Linked DNA regions of Homo sapiens: all the other regions are linked to region 1. Evidence: promoter capture Hi-C in 16 types of primary human blood cells and fetal thymus (Javierre and others, 2016). All regions are on one chromosome and are shown on one strand. Each heading gives the region's core, a stretch centred on a gene start or on the middle of the fragment in contact. The rest is flanking DNA. Distances are from core to core; before and after follow the strand shown.

Evidence for each region. Contacts are between HindIII fragments. The CHiCAGO score rates a contact against its expected background, and 5 or more counts as called.
Region 2: a fragment that was not itself captured here is called in contact with the fragment with the promoter of YPEL5 in region 1 in 7 of 17 cell types (naive B cells, total B cells, activated CD4 T cells and 4 more); the score reaches 8.0 in naive B cells.
Region 3: a fragment that was not itself captured here is called in contact with the fragment with the promoter of YPEL5 in region 1 in 8 of 17 cell types (activated CD4 T cells, total CD4 T cells, naive CD4 T cells and 5 more); the score reaches 11.1 in activated CD4 T cells.
Region 4: a fragment that was not itself captured here is called in contact with the fragment with the promoter of YPEL5 in region 1 in 2 of 17 cell types (activated CD4 T cells and non-activated CD4 T cells); the score reaches 5.6 in activated CD4 T cells.

What each region holds. Positions count from the first base shown.
Region 1 is chr2:30,144,816-30,148,327 of GRCh38, reverse strand. YPEL5 (yippee like 5) reads right to left here and starts at 1,321. Exons shown (of 3, transcript NM_016061.3): 1 at 1,266-1,321. RefSeq lists silencers at 208-647, 938-1,107, 1,138-1,717. The HindIII fragment of the contact is 10,963 bases long and covers 1-3,512 here.
Region 2 is chr2:30,686,526-30,689,559 of GRCh38, reverse strand. No RefSeq gene overlaps it. Among named protein-coding and RNA genes, the nearest start is that of CAPN13, 120 kb to the left of the region's middle. The HindIII fragment of the contact is 777 bases long and covers 1,086-1,862 here.
Region 3 is chr2:30,716,935-30,720,349 of GRCh38, reverse strand. No RefSeq gene overlaps it. Among named protein-coding and RNA genes, the nearest start is that of CAPN13, 89 kb to the left of the region's middle. The HindIII fragment of the contact is 3,711 bases long and covers 43-3,415 here.
Region 4 is chr2:30,657,463-30,660,590 of GRCh38, reverse strand. No RefSeq gene overlaps it. Among named protein-coding and RNA genes, the nearest start is that of CAPN13, 150 kb to the left of the region's middle. The HindIII fragment of the contact is 3,392 bases long and covers 1-3,061 here.

The DNA.
Region 1 (3,512 bases), core at 72-2,571:
CACAAGGTTAGCCCGAAGTTACTTCAGGTTTTCCATCTGTCAAGACGACGTAGAATAAAAATCCTCAGATTACCAACAGATCTCTGTAAACAGAAAAAGTTTAAAAATAAATGAGCTGTACAGCTTCCCAGACTCTCCCTTGAAAGGGAGATTAGTTGGTATCAGGATTAAACAGATCTTTGTAGTATTTCAATTTCCCACTCCCGCTGATCCGGACACTCATTTGTCCCATCTACCTGCAGAGAAGGTACAGGAAAGGGGTTGCAAGGGCACGCCCACCCTCCCGACTGCAAGCGGAGGGAAGGCCGCAGCCCGAAGCTGGCGGAGCTGGGCCGGCCCGGGCGACCCCCGGGTGGGCTCACCCGGCAGCCGCAGTGGGGCCCGCGAGCGCCCCCGCCGGCCCAGCTGATGGAGGCCACGTGACGCCAGCCGGCCAATCGGGAGGGACCGGGGCGGCAGAGCGCGGCGGCGGCGGTGGCGGCGGGGCCTCCCTCGGCACAACAAACACGAGCAGGAAACAGCTGAGCGGGTGGCCGGGGGGCTCTCTTGGTCCCGACACCCGGCGGGCTGCCCAACCGTCACCCTGCGCTGTCAGTCCCGGGTCCTCTGGGCAGGAGGGCGGGGGAGGCGGACGTTCATGGGGGGGAGGGGGCAAAGGGAGACACCGCCCCAGCCCGGTGGCTGGGCCGCTTGGGCCGGGCGTGGGCCCTGCTCAGGACGGTTCACGCCGTGCGGTCATCGCGGCCCAAACAACTCGGTCAAGTTCCGACTTGGATTCGGGGCGGAGACCGGGCGCGCCCCCGACTATGCGACGGGTGGGGGCGGGGCAGCCGCGGCGCGGCGCGGCGGGTTGGGGGTCGCGGCCAGACCGTCCGCCCAGGGGGCGCCGTGGGCCTCGGCGGCGGGCCTCGGAGGACGCGACGGGGAAACGGGGCGGAGGCGCGGGCGCCGCGCGGAGGGGTTGCGGCTGTTGTCGCACCGGTCGCCCGGCTGCGCGGCGGGGGCGGGCCGACGGCGGCCGCCGCGCCAGGCCTCACAAAGAGCAAACAGCCCCGCGCGTCCGCCCGCGGTCCCAGCGCCGGGGCCCACCCTGAAGGATCTGGGGCGGCCGCTCTGGGACCCCGGGAAGAGCGCGGCGAGGAAGAGGCACTTCCTGCCTGGGCCCCCCACCCTGGGCCGATTCCCGAGTGCCTCGAAGCCGCCCGACCCGAACGGGCGCCTCAGTCCCCACCGGCCCCGAGTCCAGCCCCTCCCGCGGGACTCACCCTGAGCGGCGGTGAGATCCGCGGCTGCCAGCGGCTTGTCGCTCTTCAGCTGGTATGAAGCCCCTCGGCCACCCGAGTCTCCAGGTTTAGTCAGGCCCTGGCCTTGGCCCCGCCTCTCCCTGGTTGGGCCTCAACGTCAGTCACCCGGCGTGGCTCCGCCCCCCCGCAGTCAGCTCTCCCGGTTGGCCCAGAACGCCCTTTATTTCTAGGCCCCGCCCCTGTCCTCGGCCTCCTGCCTTTTTCGCGGGGCCCCGCCCCTTCTCTGGCTCACCCTCCCCCACTCCCGCACCCCTCCGCTTCGCGGCCCACCCCTCTCAGAAGCCGCAGACCCAGGGCAGGCTTGCGACAGCTCGCCCCGCCCCTGACCCAGCACCTCGGACTCGTACAGCCAATCAAAGAGGCTAACTCTGCCCCTTCTCTCGAGGCGGCCAATGTAGTCAGTCTGGGGACCCACCTCCCCCTTTCAGCTGAGCGCACACAACACAGCATCCACGTGAGTCAGCTTCTTAAAGGCGAAGGCTTGGCCTGTCTAATTGCGGCAGCTGCGAGACATCGCACGTCATTAGCGTCACCAGGTAGCGGCTGGAGCCGAGCTTCCTGATACCTAGTGAGCCGCGGTGATGACAAATGAAAACAATAAGCTGTTTCCTAGACAAACAGCTGCCTAGGTAACTAAAGTGCACCGTGTAATTCGTTTCTTGGAGGCCGTTTCCCCGACCACCCCTGGTAGAGGGCTGCCTTTTGCTTTCAAACCCCTAGCCCTCGAGTCTAAGCGCATAGGCACTCCTAAGAAACATCTGTGGATACAGGATTTTTCAACTGCGCTTGACTTTATTTACAACTCATTTGAATGTTTTTTCTGGGTAGTGGAAATGATTCTCAAAAAGATGAAGAAATTCAGTCTTCTATATGGCGAATTTCTGCCTCAGAGAGTGAGATTTGTTCATTGCAAAGAGCAGCTGTTCCCTTAACCCTTATCAATGCTTAAGATGGAAGATGTTGCTTCTCATTCCATTAGAGTTGCCCAGGTACTTACATCTCTGTTAGCTGACTTTCGGGATAAAACCAAAATATTTGATGACGCATACCTCTCAGATTAAAAATGTAGGTTAGCATTTGGGGCTAGTTTGCAACATGTTTAAAGTCATTATTGGTGGAAGAGAAGCTGCTAAGCAAATTCTAGCACTTGACTCCCGCTCATCCCCAAATCCACAAGTATTTTCATTTAGTTCGTCTGAAGTTTACCTGAGCATCAAAGGCAAAAGGACTAGTTATCTTTTAATAAGTGAGTTTTCCAGGAGATAAGTTTTTTTGTTTGTTTGTTTCAGACGGAGTCTTGCTCTGTCGCCCAGGCTCGAGTGCAGTGGCATGATCTTGGCTCACTGCAACCTCCGCCTCCCGGGTTCAAGCAATTCTCCTGCCTCTGCCTCCTGAGTAGCTGGAATTACAGGCGCACACCACCACGCCCGGCTAATTTTTGTATTTTTAGTAGAGACGGGGTTTCACCATATTGGCCAGGTTGGTCTCGAACTCCTGACCTCGTGATCCGCCCGCCTCGGCCTCCTGAAGTGCTGGGATTACAGGCATGAGCCACTGTGCCTGGCCAGAAGTTTTAAACATACAGTATTTTAGTTTATTTTCCTTTCTATTTCTTTATTTTCAATTAACAATATTTAATATAAAAGTTACACGTTTATTGTAGGAAGATCATACTGCCTCATTTGATAAGAGACTTCTGTCTTCTAACAGCTTCATATGTATCCTATTCTTCCCAAATTGAATGTATTATACATAGAAGCATATTGTACTTCCTGTTTTTCAACCTGCTTTTTTTTTTCACTCAACAATGTGCTATAGCCATCCTTTCATGTCAGATGTGTCTTTTATCTACAAATTTACCTTTGTCTCCATAGTTTTCCGTAGTATGACTTCACCATCTTTTTTTTTTGAGGTGGAGTCTTGCTCTGTGCCCCAGGCTGGAGTGCAGTGTTGTGATCTTGGCTCACTGCAACCTCCACCTCCCAGGTTCAAGGAATTCTCCTGCCTCAGCCTCCCCAGTAGCTGGGACTACAGGTGCCCACCACCACGCCCGGCTAATTTTTGTATTTTTAGTAGAGATAGGGTTTCACCATATTGGCCAGGCTGGTCTCAAACTCCTGACCTCAGGTGATCTGCCCACCCTGGCCTCCCAAAGTGCTGGGATTACGGGTGTGAGCCAATGTGTCCAGCTTTCACCATCTTTTCTAA
Region 2 (3,034 bases), core at 225-2,724, 540 kb before region 1:
ATGACAGGCAGTTTCCTTCCTGAGAAGTAGGGAGGCACACGAGCCTTGTTCTCCTCTGTGCCCATTCCACCATAGGTGCAGGGGAAAAGTGTCACCCTTTCCTTGGTCTCATAGCCTCTGGGGCATTCTGTGAATGAGTCTGAAAACAAGCCATTGCAGGGAGGGAAAAATAAGCTGCTTACCCCAGAATGGCTCTCTGAAGCTCTGCCGGCCACCTCCTCCCAGGCCTTTGCAACAGAGACACCCTCCTCTGTTGACAGGGTAGGTCACCCTAGGAATCAGGCAGTTCTCTCTTAGGTGTCAGCTTGCAGCACTCCCATGAGGACAGGCTGGGTCAGGAGCCCACCCTCTGCTCTGATGAACTCCCACAGACCCAGGATGGAAAGGCCACAGACTCCCTTTTGCAGCTTTCCCTGGTGGAGGGACAGGTTGAGGGACAGGCTCCAGGCCAGAGGCACTCGGCTTCCATCCAGGGAGAAAAGCTGTGCAGACACGTTTCCCTCGCTAGTCACTAGGACTGAGAGCAGGGAATGAGTGAAGCTGGGACCAGCCAGGCCATGGTGCCAGCTGTGCCTGAAGCAAATACTAACAACAGCTATAATTAGCAGTAATGACCCGAATGGCTAGCATACTGTGCTGATGGATTTACAACAGGGGCGGTGGGGCTGTGGAGAGAATTCGAAGGGTCTGTGAACTTGAATGGGGAAAAAATTTATATCCTTATTTTCACTAACCTTCCACTGAAATTGAGTATCTCCTGCTCTTCTGAATGTAGTCAACAGGCCTCAGACATTTTAGCAGCATCTGCGACTTGCCAGTAGAAATCAAAGTTACATTTCATATCACTGCATTTGTTACGATATCTGAAATTATTGTTTAAGCTAATCACTGCTTCAGAATTATGGGGGTTGCGAGATCTGTCACTAGATCTTGTTTGTCGTGTTAACAAGAATCTGTGATGTGATATCAAAAATTTTAGCTTCTATAAAAATATTGTGATAACTGTATTTCAATGTAATTGGTGTTATCCTATGTCTTCTGTTTCATGCATTTAAAAATATAGCTCTGAGGAGGGATTCAAAGCTTCACCAGGCTGCCTTAACGAGGAAGAGAGGGGCTGCTCTACTGGCATAACCTTGAACAATGCTCCCAACCAGCCAGTGTGGGGGCAGGGCTGGAAGGACCTAGGTTGGCCTGCATACATTTTGGGGGTGCAGATCCCTTTGTTCAAAAAAAGTTTTTCAGGGGCTGGGCGCGGTGGCTCACACCTGTAATCCCAGCACTTTGGGAGGCTGAGGCAGGTGGATCACTTGAGGTCTGGAGTTTGAGACTAGCCTGGCCAACATGGTGAAACCCCATCCCTACTAAAAATACAAAATTTTGCCGGGCCTGGTGGCATACACCTGTAGTCCCAGCTACTCAGGAGGCTGAAGCAGGAGAATCACTTGAACCTGGGAGGCAGAGATTGCAGTGAGCCAAGATCGCAGCACTGCACTCCAGCCTGGGTGACAGAGTGAGACTCCGTTTCCAAAAAAAAAAAAAAAAAAAAAAAAAAGAGTGTTTCAGGAAGGCCAGCGTGACATCATATAAAGGTGGGACTGCTCTGGTAGAATTTGGGGGCAGGGGGTCCTTGGAGCTTCCTTACCCTGCCTACCGAGCCCTTTCATTAGATGCCGTCCTGCTCTTCCCCGCTTCCAAAAAAGCTCCATGGACTTCCTCAGTTTCCACAGAGCACATTTGCAAATCATGGACCTAATGCAGCCCCTGTCCAGGACCACCTCGTTGGTGGCATAACTTCCTATACAGCCCTGCCCATCGGAAGTCCAGGATGCCCTGGTTCTAGGCCCACAAGGCCTCAAGCTTGACTGTAGGCAGATCTGGGGTAGAATTTGGGGGATGTCATTTATGATCCCAGAATGAGTCCTCCCATGCATTCCTGAAAAAGACCAGGAGAAGGCTGGGCGCAGTGGCTCATGCCTATAATCCCAGCACTTTGGGAGGCCAAGGCAGGCAGATCACAAGGTCAGGAGATCAAGACCATCCTGCCCAACAGGGTGAAACCCCATCTCTACTAAAAATACAAAAGTTAGCCAGGCGTGGTGGTGGGCGCCTGTAGTCCCAGCTACTCAGGAGGCTGAGGCAGGACAATCACTTGAACCAGGGAGGCGGAGGTTGCAATAAACCGAGATTGCACCACTGTACTCCAGCCTGGGCGAAAAGAGCAAAAACTCCATCTCGAAAAAAGAAAAAGACCAGGAGAGAGAGGGGTTCCTAGCCCAGAGGGCTCTCACCAGCAGCTCAGGAGTTAAAAACATGGGCTTAGAAAGCTCTAAGTTCAAATACTTTTCCACCGCTTACTAGTGGTGTGTGCCGTCCAGCCTCCACTTTCACCTGGTAATTAGGAATAATACAATTTCCCACATTTAAAGGTTGTTTTGAGTTAAACGAAAAAATGCATGTAAAGAGCTTAGCCTGACCCAGCAAATGCTCAGTAAGTGGCTGTTGCTACCTGAGCCCTTTCTCTGGGGAAGATGTTTGCACCTGCCACAGCCTCTGCCCTCCTCATCCTTTCCCTCTAAGGCATCTCCCCATTGGAGACCACCTCCAGGCTTGTTTTCACCGTCCAGGCCTGGAACTCTTAGTCCTTCCAATCCTTTCCAAACATGTCACTTGGCATTCTCAGGGTGTTTTGGTAGCAGCAGCCACAGCTCACCCAGACGGCACACACTGTAGCTATTATCTAATCATCTAATAATTAGCTTGACATTTATAAAGGGCCTTGAGGGATAACTGCTTGGGGTAACTGCTGTTTTCAAATGCGATGGTACCGTAATTTTGCACCTGTGCCAGGCAAAATGTGAGCAAGAGGGAACAGTGACCCAAGCCTCTGCCTGCCCTCAATTGTCCTTAGTGTGTTTAAGTGGAAGCAGATTTACCCAGAAGCTAACAAAGCATAAGCGTCAAGACCCCTTACCTGCACGGTCCTGTGTTTTCTGTAAAGTTTGCAAAAGTAGCATACGTTTGCTTTTTTTTT
Region 3 (3,415 bases), core at 649-3,148, 570 kb before region 1:
TAAAATACTGGCAAACCGAATCCAGCAGCACATCAAAAAGCTTATCCACCACGATCAAGTGGGCTTCATCCCTGGGAGGCAAGGCTGATTCAACATACACAAATCAATAAAAGTAATCCATCATATGAACAGAACCAAAGACAAAAACCACAGGATTATCTCAATAGATGCAGAAAAGGCCTTTGACAAAATTCAACAGCACTTCATGCTAAAAACTCTCAATAAACTAGGTATTGATGGGACGTATCTCAAAATAATAAGAGCTATTTATGACAAACCCACAGCCAATATCATACTAAATGGGCAAAAAGTGGAAGTATTCCCTTTGAAAACTGGCACAAGACAGGGATGCCCTCTCTCACCACTCCTATTCAACATAGTGTTGGAAGTTCTGGCCAGGACAATCAGGCAGGAGAAAGAAATAAAGGGTATTCAATTAGGAAAAGAGGAAGTCAAATTGTCCTGATTTGCAGATGACATGATTGTATATTTAGAAAACCCCATCATCTCAGCCCAAAATCTCCTTCAGCTGATAAGCAACTTCAGCAAAGTCTCAGGATACAAAATCAATGTGCAAAAATCACAAGCATTCTTATACACCAATAACAGACAAACAGAGAGCCAAATCATGAGTGAACTCCCATTCACAATTACTTCAAAGAGAATAAAATACCTAGGAATCCAACTTACAAGGGACGTGAAGGACCTCTTCAAGGAAAACTACAAATCACTGCTCAACGAAATAAAAGAGGACACAAACAAGGGAAGAACATTCCATGCTCATGGATAAGAAGAATCAATTGTGAAAATGGCCATACTGCCCAAGGTAATTTATAGATTCAATGCCCTCCCCATCAAGCTACCAATGACTTTCTTCGCAGAATTGGGAAAAAGTATTTTAAAGTTCATATGGAACCAAAAAGAGCCCACATTGCCAAGACAATCCTCAGCCAAAAGAACAAAGCTGGAGGCATCACGCTACCTGACTTCAAACTATACTACAAGGCTACAGTAACCAAAACAGCATGGTACTGGTACCAAAACAGAGATATAGACCAATGGAACAGAACAGAGCCCTCAGAAATAATACCACACATCTACAACCATCTGATCTTTGACAAACCTAACAAAAACAAGCAATGGGGAAAGGATTCCCTATTTAATAAATGGTGCTGGGAGAACTGGCTAGCCATATGTAGAAAGCTGAAACTGGATCCCTTCCTTACACCTTATACAAAAACTAATTCAAGATGGATTAAAGACTTGCATGTTCGACCTAAAACCACAAAAACCCTGGAAGAAAACCTAGGCAATAACATTCAGGACATAGTTGGCAAGGACTTCATGACTAAAACACCAAAAGCAATGGCAACAAAAGCCAAAATTGACAAATGGGATCTAATTAAACTAAAGAGCTTCTACACAGCAAAAGAAAGTACCATCAGAGTGAACAGGCAACCTACAGAATGGGAGAAAAATTTTACAATCTCATATGACAAAGGGCTAATATCCAGAATCTACAAAGAACTTAAACAAATTTACAAGAAAAAAATCAAACAACCCCATCAAAAAGTGGGCAAAGGATATGAACAGACACTTCTCAAAAGAAGACATTTATGCAGCCAACAGACACATGAAAAAATGCTCACCATCACTGGCCATCAGAGAAACGCAAATCAAAACCACAATGAGATACCATCTCACACCAGTTAGAATGGTGATCATTAAAAAGTCAGGAAACAACAGGTGCTGGAGAGGATGTGGAGAAATAGGAACACTTTTACACTGTTGGTGGGACTGTAAACTAGTTCAACCATTGTGGAAGACAGTGTGGTGATTCCTCAAGGATCTAGAACTAGAAATACCATTTGACCCAGCCATCCCATTACTGGGCATATACCCAAAGGATTATACATCATGCTGCTATAAAGACACATGCACATGTATGTTTATTGCGGCACTATTCACAATAGTAAAGACTTGGAACCAACCCAAATGTCCACCAATGATAGACTGGATTAAGAAAATTTGGTACATATACACCATGGAATACTATGCAGCCATAAAAAAAGGATGAGTTCATGTCCTTTGTAGGGACATGGATGAAGCTGGAAACCATCATTCTCAGCAAACTACCACGAGGACAGAAAACCAAACACCGCATGTTCTCACTCATAGGTGGGAATTGAACAATGAGAACACTTGGACACAGGATGGGGAACATCACACACTGGGGCCTGTCATGGGGTGGGGAGAGCAGGGAGGGATAGCATTAGGAGATATACCTAATGTAAATGATGAGTTAACGGGTGCAGCACACCAACATGGCACATGTATACATATGTAACAAACCTGCACGTTGTGCACATGTACCCTAGAACTTAAAGTATAAAAAAAAAAAAAAAGAAGTGACAGATACAAGATTGAAGCATAAGTCCCCTGATTCGGTTACTGTGGCCTCTCCAGCAACTAGACTTTAGGCTGGTGCCCGGTAGAGCAGAGGAAAGGACTGATCTGCTTCCCTGGAGCTGGGGGTTACCCCAGTGAGGTAGCCATCTGACAGCACGTGTGCACACACACACTCACTCCAGGGCAGCTGGGTTCCAGACAGCAGCTACATGTGCATACAGACTAGCGAAAGAGTTTAAATGGTGAGGAAGGAGCAAAGTGTATCAGCCAGGTCTAGTCAGGAAAAAAAAAAAAAAACAAAAAAAACCACTCAAGGTATTTCAAGAAGGAAGGGATCTAGTCTAAGGAATGAGGCACTTAAAAAGCTGTTGGATTGGTTAAAGGAGCAAAGGCCAGGAAGGTCACCACTGACTCCCAGGCTCACCACTAGCCTTAAGAGAACCAAGAAGCTGCTACTGCTACCCAAGCCAGACACTACAGGGAGCTGCCAGTAATGGTCCTGACCTCCTGCAGCCTAACACCAGTGACTTGCAAGACAAAACCTCACATCTGCTGAAACCCACCTGACTGCACAACTTGCTGGAGGCAGAATCATATGCCTTCTGCCTCTCTTCTGCCTTCCAAATGTCACCCACATGTATCTCAAGGGTGGGACTTAAAATGTACCTGGATCTGTCCTGGCAAGGGTATTTCTCAGGCTTCCAGCCCCTGCCAAATAGGAGAGAATATAGAAAGTGGTGTAAAAGCTGCCAGGTGCCAAGAGACAACAGCCAGCACAGAGAGGACGAAAATGGAAGGAGAGATAGAAAGACAAAAAGATGGAAATGGGGACCTGAGGAAGGGAGGAAACTTTAGACAGACGAGGAACAGATAGATGAGGCATGGCCAGGAGCAATACAGACAAATTAGATGGGAGAGACAGAGGATACGACAGAAATAGGAAGACTAAAACAGAAGGAAGAAGACTGGGGCCACAGGTGCTGGTAGGAGTATTGGCGATACAGCC
Region 4 (3,128 bases), core at 116-2,615, 510 kb before region 1:
TTTCACGAGCCTAGGGAGTCAGGGACATCCCTCCCCACCTTCCTGCTGTTTGCATATTCTTTGCCAGGTGCCACTTTTCAGTGTCTAGGAAGGAAATTTAGTTGAACCAGGACAATACATTTCTCTGGAATGATACCAAGGGGTGACTGTTAAATGACGTAGGGACCTCAAATGAAATGAACCATTCCTTTCTGAAAGAGCCAACACCTGCTTTCCAGGGGCATTCAGAGTTTGAGCTTCATTGATCATATGGCAGAATGGCTTCTACAATTTTATTATTGATCATGGAAAGTAGCCTTTTATTTTCCCTCCCTCTTTCCTTTTCAGGCTCTACTGTGGAGTGAGTTCATGCCCACTGATCCAACTTACCCCTTGCCCCTATCTTTTCCATCACTAAATCCCTAACTTCTCTAGTTTATAAGGTGCTGATTAGAAGTTCTCTGTGAGCATTTGCTCTCAGTGTCCTGGGTGGCCTTTGGAAGTCTCCCTTCACCCTGCCTCCACGGTTCTGTCTATGAATGTTCAGGATAGGAATAAATACTCTCCCAGCCAGGAGTGGCATGACAGTCCCAAGGGACAGGGTGCCTGGTACACAGTAGGAGCTCAATAAGAGTTGCTGTTATGTGGCCTTGGATGAGTCACTTGCCCTCCCTGGGCACCAGTTTTACCATCAGCTCTCATTTTTGCTAATAATGATGATGGAGGAAAAAGACAAAGAGGAGGAAGAAGAGAACACTAAGAGACACATATGAAAGATGTAGTGTATGATAGAGTGGTTGGGGAAAAGAAAGAAGAAAGAGAGGGGGATGGAAAAGCCAACCTCAAAACATAACAAAGAGGAAGATCTGCAGGAGCACAGGAGTCCCACAGTTGCCCCTACACCAAAGGGCTCCTGGGTTCCAAGTATTTGCTACATGAGAAGGAAAATCCCCCAGCCTCGTCTTTCCTTCAACCCAACAATGGAGCCCTCCTTCCACTCCTGGAAACATGAAAGTTCACATCTCATCATGTCTCAAGCATGTCTTCTCATGTCTCATCGACTTCCACCTTGATAGAAGAGGGGTTTGTGAGATTTAGGGTGTGGGAACCTGGCCTGGGAGAGCAGCGAGAGATTAGACACCCTTTAGTGCTGACCTCTGCCTCCCTCCAATGATCAGAGCCTCAAGGTCATGCTGATGGCAAGAGCCAGTGCCTAGACTGGACAGCAAGGGTCCTGATTCCCCATCCAGTTCTTTATCCTATCTCCTGACACCCTCTACTTATGAAGGAACTTTGCTCAGCCCTTCCATTCATAGAGGGCTTCCAAGCCATGCCCACATTGACCCTTTTCAATAATTCACCCTGGGAAGTGGGTGTCGTTTCCCCATTTTGCAGGTCAAGAAGCTGAAGCTCAGCAGGATTAACTGACTTGCTCAAGTCTTGAATTCTGCCTCCTTAATACATAGCTGAACCACTTCTTTGTGGCAAACTCTGCACCATGCTGAGCTCAAAGTGATTAAATTGGGTCTTGAGTCCTGAGTTGAGGGAATGATGCATTGATTCTTCCCTTGGTTCCTGGAAGTCTTCTAGCTCTAAGGAGACAATGGCTGCTGTGACTTGTCCCTTCCCAGGGTGCTGTAGAGGAACCTGGAGCCCCTGGTACCCATCTGCTTGACCTGGGGGCTGCAGAATATGCCTTAGGCTGTGACTCTTGGGATTCCACACCAGCCTCGTCAGCACTTTGTGTGCCTGACTTCCATCTTCCAGTCTTGGCCTGGGGGAATCCATTTTCCTACTGTTCCGGAGACTTCCACACTGAGTGTCCAGAGGGCTGGACTTCCACAGAGGGTTTTTTTTCCTATGGTATGGGGATACCATGCCTGTATAAAGTGTTGGCCCTGGAGCTTTGGCTACCAAGATGCCAAAATCTCTTTATATTTGAGTCTTTATAAAACCAAATTTTCTTCTGGAGGTGCTCCCATGTCACAATATATACCAAAAACATGACTTGCACCCTTGCATTTCTCCAGCCACTGGGGTGGGACAACAAAGGGGAAGTTCATGGAGAGGTCTATGGAAAACTGATGCCTTCATCTAGTTACCTTCTCTGCCGGTCCACAGTCAATCTTCTGGTTGAGGGTCTAGAGCCTTTATTAGTCAGGAACGCCAGAAGTCAGGGTGACAAGCTAGATGGGAAGCAGAAAAGAGCGAGGACAAGCTGGGACCTGCCAGACACGTTTGCATCTGTTTCACACCATATGCAACCACGACAATTTTCAGAGAGTAATGGCCTCTGCTTCACTTCTGTCTTCCAAATCTCTTACCAGTTGCTGTTTGGCCAATTCTATATGGCTCCTATAACGTGGAGCCATACAGGGAAAAGAATTCTGGGAGTATAGCCCCCAGCTTAACCAAATTAACACAGCACCATCCAACATAGTGTACTTTAGCAAATCACTTCCCTCTGAGTCTTTATTCCTCTTCAGTAAAATAGGGGAAATAATACTAACAATAATCTAACTCAGACTATTGATTAAATAAGAAATATATGCATAGTCTGGCATATTCTAAGTACTCAGTGCTGATATGGTTTGGCTGTGTCTCCACCCAAATCTCATCTCGAATTGTAGTTTCCATAATCCCCACATGTCATGAGAGGGACCAGTAGGGGGTAATTTAATCATGGGGGCAGTTACCTCCATGCTGTTCTCGTGATAGTGAATGAGTTCTCACAAGATCTGATGGTTTTATAAAGAGCCTTCCCCCCACTTCGCTCTGCACTTCTCCTTGCTGCTGCCTTGTGAAGGACGTGTTTGCTTCCCCTTCCGCCAGGACTGTAAGTTTCCTGAGGCCTCCCTAGCCATGCTGAACTGTGAGTCAATTAAACCTCTCTCCTTTAAAATTACCCAGTGGTGGGTATGTCTTTCTTAGCAGCATGAGAACAGACTAATACAAATGCATACTATTTTGCTTATTATAGAAGAAACTCATACATGCTTGTTGAATGAATGAATTGGAACTCTTTGGAGAGGTATAAAGGGGACAGGAAATAAGTCACCCGCCAGAACTTCAGGGCCAAGCTTCCTCTTGTGGGGATCATCTGGGTGGTCTGGCACAGAGAATCAGGCTGGGCTAGGGAGCTCAGCCCC